Linked DNA regions of Homo sapiens: region 1 is linked to region 2. Evidence: promoter capture Hi-C in human tissues and cell types (Jung and others, 2019). All regions are on one chromosome and are shown on one strand. The core of a region is centred on a gene start or on the middle of the fragment in contact, and the rest is flanking DNA. Distances in the headings are between cores, read along the strand shown. Region 1 has its middle 670 kb from the start of LINC01507. Region 2 holds the start of TLE1 (TLE family member 1, transcriptional corepressor).

Region 1 (4,769 bases), core at 1,793-4,292, 1.2 Mb after region 2:
CATCAGTGCAAATGGGTCTATATAAATTGTTTAGTATTGCATAGTACCCTATAGTATAGAAATACTATAATTATTTGACATTTCCTGTAGGTTTTCTCCCTTTTTTTTTTTCTGGCTATGACATGAAGCTGTGATCATTGCGTGTCATCATGTACCATTTGTGCATGAGTTACAGTAAAATAGATTCCTAGAGGCTGGATTGATGGCTTGACAGATATGTACACTTTAATTTGGATTGTCACTACCAAATTACACTTTTAAAAGCTTGTTTGGGCCGGGCGCGGTGGTTCACGCCTGTAATCCCAGCACTTTGGGAGGCCGAGGCGGGTGGATCATGAGGTCAGGAGATCGAGACCATCCTGGCTAACAAGGTGAAACCCCGTCTCTACTAAAAATACAAAAAATTAGCCGGGCGCGGTGGCGGGCGCCTGTAGTCCCAGCTACTCGGGAGGCTGAGGCAGGAGAGATTGCGCCACTGCAGTCCGCAGTCCGGCCTGGGCGACAGAGCGAGACTCCGTCTCAAAAAAAAAAAAAAAAAAAAAAAAAAAAGCTTGTTTGGATTTACAACCTTATCAATTGCATGTCCCAGAGCCTTTTTCACATAATCTTAGCAGCCATATTATTTTTAAACTTTTGATGGTATATGGTATAAAGTAAAAAATGTATATCTCATTACTATTTTAATTTGCACCATCCTAAACAATAGAAATATTAGGCATATTTTTCTATTTTTGTTGATTCTTCTTATTTGACTGGCTAAGTTGTGACTTTTGTGCATTTTTTTCCATTAGTTTGTTTGGTACTTTACCGATTTGTAAGAGCTCTTTTTATTTAAGCAATATTAATGTTTCATATGTGTTATATATTACCCGTATTCTCTTCTCATGTGCCATTTTTTTTAACCTTAATTGTGGTGACTTTACCTAATTGATTTCCAAAATTTTGGGGTAGTCAATCTATCAGTCTTTTCTCTTATAACTTCTGGCTTTGTTTGCATTGCCTCAAAAAGACTTTCCTATTCAAAAAGCAATATTCCTCTAATATTTTATAATTCTGAAGTTTTTATGTGTGGATCATTGATAAACTTGGAATTTATCTGAGAGTTGATGGGTTAGGGGCACAATTATTTCAGATTAAAGAAATAGCCAAATATTTAAAAAGAATTATTTTCTAAAGTAGAAATGTGCTGTCTTCAGATCTAGTTATAAAACCACTGTGTGATAGTCCATACTCTCTCTTCTCTGTACCTGTTGGGTAGGCTGTGTATATCACTGTAAGCCAGAAGGAGCCTGGGTCCTTGAGCCACTGCTAGAAAGGAAGCTGCTAGGGAGAGGTCCAGATTCACACTGTTCTGTGAGCAAGAAATATGTCTTTATTTGTTTAAGAACTGTGATATGGGGTTTATCTGTTACTGCAGGGAGAATGAGCTTGTCTTTGCTGATGCAGGCACCAAATATAAGTAACCATACTCTGGTATGCACTAAATGTGCTGTAAGATTTCCGAAGAATGGAAAGACATCTGCATTAATAATAAAAATTAATAAAAGATTTGAAAGGTAGAAAATGAGAAGAGCACATAAAATTGTGGAGCCCATGTGAGGGCTACAGGTGATAAAGTGAGAAAACAGAAGCATTCTTAGGGAAGGATCTGGAAGCAAGGCTATATAAGTAGAGCGGACCCGGACTATTAACTAATATGAAAAAGCTAAGTTAAAACAGAGACAACTAAATCAAACTAACTGTTCCATAAGATGTTTTCTGGGAGGTACCTCTTTTCCTGTCTTGAAGAGGCTTCTCTTTTTCCTGATGATTTATTCTGAGCATTGTATCTGTACACAATGCTTCTGTATCAACTGAGAGAGTCGTGGCCCAGGCTACCCTCCTCTATTGATTGCTGTCCTCCTGGCCTCAGGGGAACCACTTGTCACCTCATAGTGACTATGATATCTACTACTGCAGAGGAGAAAAAATTCTTAGCTGTTGCAAAACATTTTCCAGTGATTTAAGGATCTAGCAGTCTACCAACTCACTGTTATAATGAGCTGTGGGGCTTTTCCCTTGGATTTTGCAGGACGTGCCCTTGAATTATTTATAACAGAGCAGCCACCTGCTTGCGACTATTTTCCATTTTGTCTTGTGTTCAATCGGTCTTGTCAGTGGCATCGCGAGTACAGTAGCACTCTGCATTGCACCCTTCAACCCCCTATTAGAACAGTGCTGACAGTGAGCTGCCACACACCTTAAAAGTTCTATTCCACTACAGCCATGGACTTTGTCTAAATAGATAGTTCTATAAGCTTCATAATGAAGAGAAGTGCTGGTTCAATTGTTCAGCAAGGTGCTGTCAACTCCAGCACTGAGAAAAGTCTTTCTCTTTTCTGGAAGACTGAAATTGATGAATATACATGCTTGTGTTGACAAAAAGCAATTTGGGTCGGGGGGAAGGAGAAACCAACCCACCTGCATTCAAAGTACAGCTCTGTGCTGGCAAACAAGCAATGCCTTCGCTCTTTTCTTCCTCCACTTTAACAAAAAGAAACATTACATGTTTGAGTAGACAACAAGAGGTACCATTAAGATACAGAAAATTGAAAACCTAGACTGCAATAAAAAAAAAAAAAAGACAGTCACAGGGGAAATTGTAATGGCTTCCCACGTTTTAGTGGAATACTTCCGTTTTTTATTCACCTCGCAAACAGTGTTCACAAACAACAGCAAAGAACAAAAGCTGTGATTTATATTTATGGACAGGTATACACGCACCCCTGACCTCCTGCTGCCTTCCTCACCCTTCGTACCAGAAGCAATTTATGGAGGCTGGTCTAAATAAACATTAAGGAGGCAAGGCCACAGACTGACAGCCAGGAAAATTGATGGTCTCCAGAAACCAGCAAGTAGGATCAATAAAAGAGATTAGGCATCACAAGCTAGTGTAAGGCTGTTACAGGTAAATGTGGCTTGCTCGTCATCTGACAGGGTTCTCAGCAACAGGATAAAAACTCATATAAACAGAAGCACACAGCGAGCAGCCAGTGGTGGCTTCTCCTGGGTTGCAGAGACTGATGGATGACCCCAGAATGAAAGGGATTTATATAGGGGCCTTTGGGAATTTTCATTTGCTCTTCCAGCAATGGAGCAGCTGCAGGAATGGGGCAGGAAGTAGTGCAGATGTATCCTTTGAAAAATTTCTCTGCGGTTGGGCACGGTGGCTTACGCCTGTAATCCTAGCACTTTGGGAGGCCGAGGCAGGTGAATTGCCTCAGCTCAGGCGTTCGAGACCAGCCTGGGCAATACAGTGAAACCATGTCTCTACTAAAATACAAAAAATTAGCCTGGCATAGTGCCATGCGCCTGTAATCATAGCTACTCGGGAGGCTGAGACAGGAGAATTGCTAGAACCTGGGAGGTGGAGGTTGCAGTGAGCTGAGATCATCCCACTGCACTCCGGCCTGGGCAAGAGAGACTCAGTCTCTTAAAAAAAAAAAAAAAGAAAAAAGAAAGAAAGAAAAATCTCTCTGCTTTTGCTTCTCACAAGTTAGCTTTCTCTGGATTTATTTATTACTCCTCTCTGAACACAGGACAGCATAACTTAGCCTGCCCTGTCCTTCTATGCACACACACACAAACACACAGAAACAAATACACACACTCACCTTCAACATTTCTTAACAGGATTATTTATACTCAGATGCACAGTGAGTATGAATGGGAACTACTATGTTGCAAACTTAACTCTCTTTTCATAAGTCTCTAAAGAAAACCCATGCATTCATAACTTAAAACATTGGATTGTTAACTTGCAAGCTGAAGAATGAAGGATAATTACATTCTTGAGTTTGCAAGTTAATGTCCAAAGCTTGTCAACAAAAGAATGAAGTATAATTATGTTCTTGAAAAGCAGGGATACTAAGAGGAAGAACCAAGACAAAATAGATTTTTCCTTTTTATGGAACAGGCCAGTTAGAACTTAAAAATTCAAATCTTAGCTTTGTGGGAATGGTTACTTTAAAACCAAAATCATGCTTTGTTTTGGCTGAGAATTTTCATTTTAGAAATGGTGGTAAGGCTTCTGTCTGACAAGAATATAATGGAAACACAGATGAGGATGAGTATAGGAAGAGAAAGTTTAATTTCCTTGATCACTAAAAGACAATTGGAATTTTAATTGTATTTTAATCTAGGGACAGGATAAAGTGAGGCTAATGTTCTCAGTAGTGGTAAATTAAGAAAAATACCACACCGTTTTGCTTCCCTTGAATCTGGGGATTCCCTCCATTGGGACTTCCCAAAGCTGACCTGACACCTTGCTTTGACCAATGTGATGTGGAAGGTGTCATGTGAGTTCTCCGCTTAAGTTTCAAGAAGATTTAAAGCTTATTCTCTTGATGTTCCTGGATAACACAATGTGAACAAACTCAATGCTGTGGTTTAAATGTCCCCTTCAAAACTCATGTTGAAATTTAATTGCCGTTGTGACAATATTAAGAGATGTAGTATTTAAGATGTGAGGTGATTAATGGTGTTATTGAGGGAGTGGCTTAGTTATTGCAATTATGGGTTCCTGATAAAAGAATAAAGTTTGCCCCTCCCTCCTCTGTTTCACATTTGCCTTTACATCTTCCATCATGAGGTGATGAAACACAAAGTTCCTTGCCAGATGTTGACACCATGCTTTTGGACTTCCCAGCCTCCAGAACTGTGAGAAATAAATTTCTTTTCTTTATAAATTACCCAGTTTGGGATGTTCTGTTCTAACAGCAGAAAACTGA
Region 2 (4,457 bases), core at 740-3,239:
GCAGTGCTTTCTTCTTTTTTGTTCTCCATGTTAGCAAAATGAATAATACAGCCGCCTTCCCAACTGTACTTAATGAGAACACCACAAAGCTACAATGCCCAACTTGTTTAAGAATTTACTATGGCTTCGTACAGACTGGTTAAAATCGCTTTTTTATTTTTTCATTTATAATTGATATTTGGGAGTGATGCAATTATAGACAAATCAATATCATACATATTTAAAAACAACTCCAACAGTGAAATGTATTATCTAAAATGACTTCTAAAACTATTTCAAGAAAAAGAACTCTGTAAAAGCACATCTTTAAATAAAATGTATGTCTGTTTAAATAAGCTCCTTCCCGTAAGTCTCTTGAAGGTAAAATAATAAAATAATAACGTGGGGGTTATTAATACCAAAAACTTAACTAGTTTCCAACATAAGATAAATACTTGTCCAAGATGTGCCCTTATGGAAGAAGTTACCACCGTTTGGCTAAACCAGCATTATTCATTCACTGCTCATGTGGAAATGTTCCTCAAACAAAAGCATAAATGCGGCAATACTGACGGTTTTCTGCTGTGTATTTAGAGACATACACAAAAACCAAAGACTCTCAGCATTAATTATACAGCATGTCTTGATTATTACAATCTCAAAATCCCTTTTAACTCAAGTTCCACTTCATAAGAACCTTAGCCACGTCATTTACCTAACTCTTCCCATTTAGCTCTTCACACAGCTCAGCTCAGGAGTACCACCCAGACTGTGGGGGTGGGGTGTGCGGGACAGGTTTTTCAGGTCTCAGTGCTGGTTTATTACATTGTCTCTCTTTGTTCCCAGGAATTGGAAACAGACTCGTAGTCTTGTAGCTGAGAAGTTCCTAAAAACCTCAGCCGCTCCCCACCTCTCCCAACACAGCGAAGTCAGGACTTTTAAGACGAAGACCTGGGATTTCGCGCCCCGGGCAAAACGTCTCATCTGCGGACACGCGTGCCTTGTTCTGGCAGCACCCTGGGAATCCTTCCCGCCAAACGGGACAGGACGATCTTTTTGAAAAGTGGCTTGAAATCCTGCAATAAAAATCAAATCCTACCACTTTGGGTGCAAAGGGGGTGGGTGGGGTGGGAGGACATCACAGTCGTCTTTGCTGGTGTACCTACGCCAACCGTGGCGTTGCTCATTTACGCATTTCCAACTAAGTGCACAGTCCACTCCCTCTCGTACATCCGTAAAAAGGCAGCTCAAGGAAAAACAAACCTCAGATAAATTTTTGAATGTGGCCTCACTTTTAGAGTAGCATCAAACAAGGGGTCCAGCACTGAAAAACACATTTGCTCGAATTACCAAAAGCCCCCCTCCGCCTCCAATAAGAAACTCCGCAGCTAGTCTTTGAGTTACTTTCACTTAGATCTGAGGATTTTCATTAAAGGGAAAAGTGAGCAAGTGGCAGGATTTTTGCTAACTCGAGCCCTCAGCTTCCCCGGCTGCACGCTCGCCAGTCCCTCCCGCTAGCGCGCGCCCGCGCGCTCTCTAGCCAGCCCCACGTTACTTTGATTGACAGCCCAGCCCCGCCGCTCTCCTTCCCACCGACCTTCCCATCATCAGTGCCAATCTCCGCGAATCGCCGCTTCCCATTGGCTGGTTTTGGCGTCCCGCGGCTCCTCCAGGAACAGTTCCTCACCAAGCCCGGGAGGACGCGGCTGGCGGAGGAGGGGCCGGGATGGGAAGGGAGACCGAGGAGACGGCGGAGATGGAAGCGAGAGGAGGGGGGGAGGGAGAACGCCCCGTCCGGCGCTGCGCTGCCATACGCTCCGGGGAGGAGCGCGTCAGCGCCCCACGTTGGTTGCAGCGCACGCGATTGGCTGATGCGGGCCTTCTGCCCCCCCCCCACCCCCCAACCTCCCGGGCTCACGTCCCCCGCCGGCTCCGCGCTCGCGCCCCCCGCCCGAACGGGGCTGGGCGGGGCCGGCGCTGGTTAGCTCCGGAGTGTGAAACCGCGTGTTAATGTAAGCGGCGCGAGAGGCGCGGGCGGCGGCGGCGGTGGGAGCGGCGGCTGCAGAAGCAGCAGCAGCAGAAACAGCGGCGGGTACTCTGTGCCCCGCGTCCCGGAGGCAGCCGACTGCGCCACCCCACCCTCGCACGGCCGGGCGGGACCCGCGCCACCAGCCCGGACCTCCGTCGTCCCGCGGCGACCAAAACCCCCGCTGGCCCCACCGCTGTGACTACTCTGGACTCGCCCGCAGAGTTTGCCCGCCGGGGAGGGTGGCCGATTGGCGGAGCGCACTCCTGCTGTTTTCCCCACCATCTCGTGGATGTCGTCCCTCGGGTGGTGAGAGAACTTTGCAGTGGGCTGGAGCGCCCTTTGCGGAGAAGCACACGAAGGTGAAGGAAGGAAAGAAAGAAGACCGAGGAAGAAGGAGCTCGGAAGAAGGGTCCGGAGCGGCCGGTCCGGCCGTGCAGGGCGAGTGCGCCCGAGGCGCGGCGCCCTGATGCTCCCCGGGCTCGAGGAGCATTGGGCACTTGCGGGACTGCTCTCGGTGGAGTAGCCCCGTCGGGCCCGGAGGGTTTGTGCAACCGCGGAGAACACCGAGTGCTGGTCGCACGGGGCGTGCCGAGCCGCCTCCCGGCGCGCCCTCCGCACTTTCCCCGCCTCGTCATCCGTCGCTCCCCGGCCAGGAGCCTCCGCTGCGTCTTCAACCTCGCTCCCCTTTGCGTCCCGGGAGCCTGCGAGCACCCGGCCGAAGGCGCAGCCGAATCTTGCGGGAGTCGCCCCGAAAGCGTCGGGTTTGTGTGGGGTTAGCGGGGGCCGCCGCGCCACCTGCACCTCGCCCGCCGCCGCCTCGGGGAAAGCCCGAAGAGGAGGCGGACCAGGAGAAGAGCAAAGAAAAGCAGTCCGTCTGGATTTGTTTGCCCAGGACTGGCGCCGCGCACGCGGATCGCCGAGGGGAGTGCGGTCGGAGTCACCGCGCCCCCGCCTCCCCGCCCGGGCAGCTGAGGCCGGGGGTTGGAGCGCTGCCCCCGCGCACAGTCCCCGAGCGCCCGACGTCTCCGCGCAGGTTCTTGAAGCAGCTGGGCCTGGGGCGCCCACTAATGTGGCCCTGAGGGCCGGAGCCCGCACCGACGGGAGCGGGAGCCGGAGCAGCTGCGGGCGCCGAGTGGCCGGTGCGCCCGGCGGAGCGCGCGTGCGTGGCCAGCGCGCTCCCCGCTTCTGCTTGGCTTTCCGGCTTAATTTTCCTCGGCGGGATTAAAGTTGGAAATTGACCGGAGAATTGAGTTGCCGGGGAACAGAGCCCCGGCCGCCGCCAGAGCGATGTTCCCGCAGAGCCGGCACCCGGTGAGGCGCGGCTGGGTGGTGGTGGGGGGCCAGGATCGTTGGGGAGGCGCTTCTCCCGGGCGGTAGGGAGACTGGTGGCTTCTGAGGCCCGGCGGACCTTCTCGCCCTCAGCGGTGTAAGGCTGGGGAGGTCTGGGGCCCTCTCTTCCTGGGGTGGGGAGTGGGCCGAAACTCTTAATTTTCTCCCTCCCTTTGGGCTCCTTCCTACTTGACGTCTATACCGAGCGGACAGGGGCGCTGGGGAAGGCTGGGGTTTCTCTCCTGCAGCCATATCCCCTCTACCTTCCCCGAGTGGGGGCAGGGCGCCCCCCCCTTTGTTTCTCCTCTCGCCTATTTACATGTCAATGCGGCCCCGGTTCCGGTGCGTCTGGAGGTGGCCCCGGCGACTCTGGGAATGGGGAGCGTAAAGGAGTTGTTTTTCTCCTCTGGTCCCCGGGGTCATTATCGCCGCCGTGGGGGAAGGGGCGGCGACACCGACAATCTGGCCTGGTCTTCCCTGGCCGCCGGGGAGCCCCCTTCCCTTTGGCCTGGTGACCCGGGCGCACTTAGCGCAATCCGCCCTGGAGACTGGGAAGAGCTTCCGAGCCTCTTTAGAAGCCGGGGCCCGGGGAGGGTCCGCTTTCCCCCTCCCCATAGTGAAGGGCAAACTCGAGTTTGGGGCCTCGTTTTCAGCCACTTCTAACTTTATGTTTATGTCCCACCCGTTCTTGCCTTCTCTGACTTACTGCTTTATTCATCCGCCCGCATTCCCGTCCCTCGGTCCCCCTCGCTGGTCGCCCCCAGACGCCGCACCAGGCTGCAGGCCAGCCCTTCAAGTTCACTATCCCGGAGTCCCTGGACCGGATTAAAGAGGAATTCCAGTTCCTGCAGGCGCAGTATCACAGGTGCGTGTCCGGCCGCGCCATGCGAGTGGTCGCGGGCGTCCCGGTGCCCCTTGCACCCAGCCGGGTGGCGGCGGCGCCTGTACTTAGTTCTTGCGTCCAGGCGGTGGCGTGTGGAGTCTCAGTTAAGACCTGTCATTCAAGTTACCCCCTTTCCTGGTTCTTCCCGGGCCGCCTCTTCTCTTGTCTCCTCCTCCTCCCATTGTTTCCCTTTTGCCGGTTTGCACTGTTCCAGGGAGTCCTTTTTCATGTCTTTAG

The links. Contacts are between HindIII fragments. The study calls those that stand out against the background at their distance.
Region 1: a fragment that was not itself captured here is called in contact with the fragment with the promoter of TLE1 in region 2 in 1 of the 25 tissues and cell types used here (mesenchymal stem cells).

What each region holds. Positions count from the first base shown.
Region 1 is chr9:80,495,504-80,500,272 of GRCh38, reverse strand. No RefSeq gene overlaps it. Among named protein-coding and RNA genes, the nearest start is that of LINC01507, 670 kb to the right of the region's middle. The HindIII fragment of the contact is 3,236 bases long and covers 1,425-4,660 here.
Region 2 is chr9:81,687,079-81,691,535 of GRCh38, reverse strand. It overlaps TLE1 (TLE family member 1, transcriptional corepressor), which reads left to right and starts at 1,989. Exons shown (of 20, transcript NM_005077.5): 1 at 1,989-3,319; 2 at 4,102-4,202. The coding sequence starts at 3,296. TLE1-DT (TLE1 divergent transcript) reads right to left here and starts at 1,823. Exons shown (of 4, transcript NR_109772.1): 1 at 1,577-1,823. RefSeq lists silencers at 1,442-1,591, 1,742-2,091 and an enhancer at 1,964-2,678. The HindIII fragment of the contact is 9,578 bases long and covers 1-4,457 here.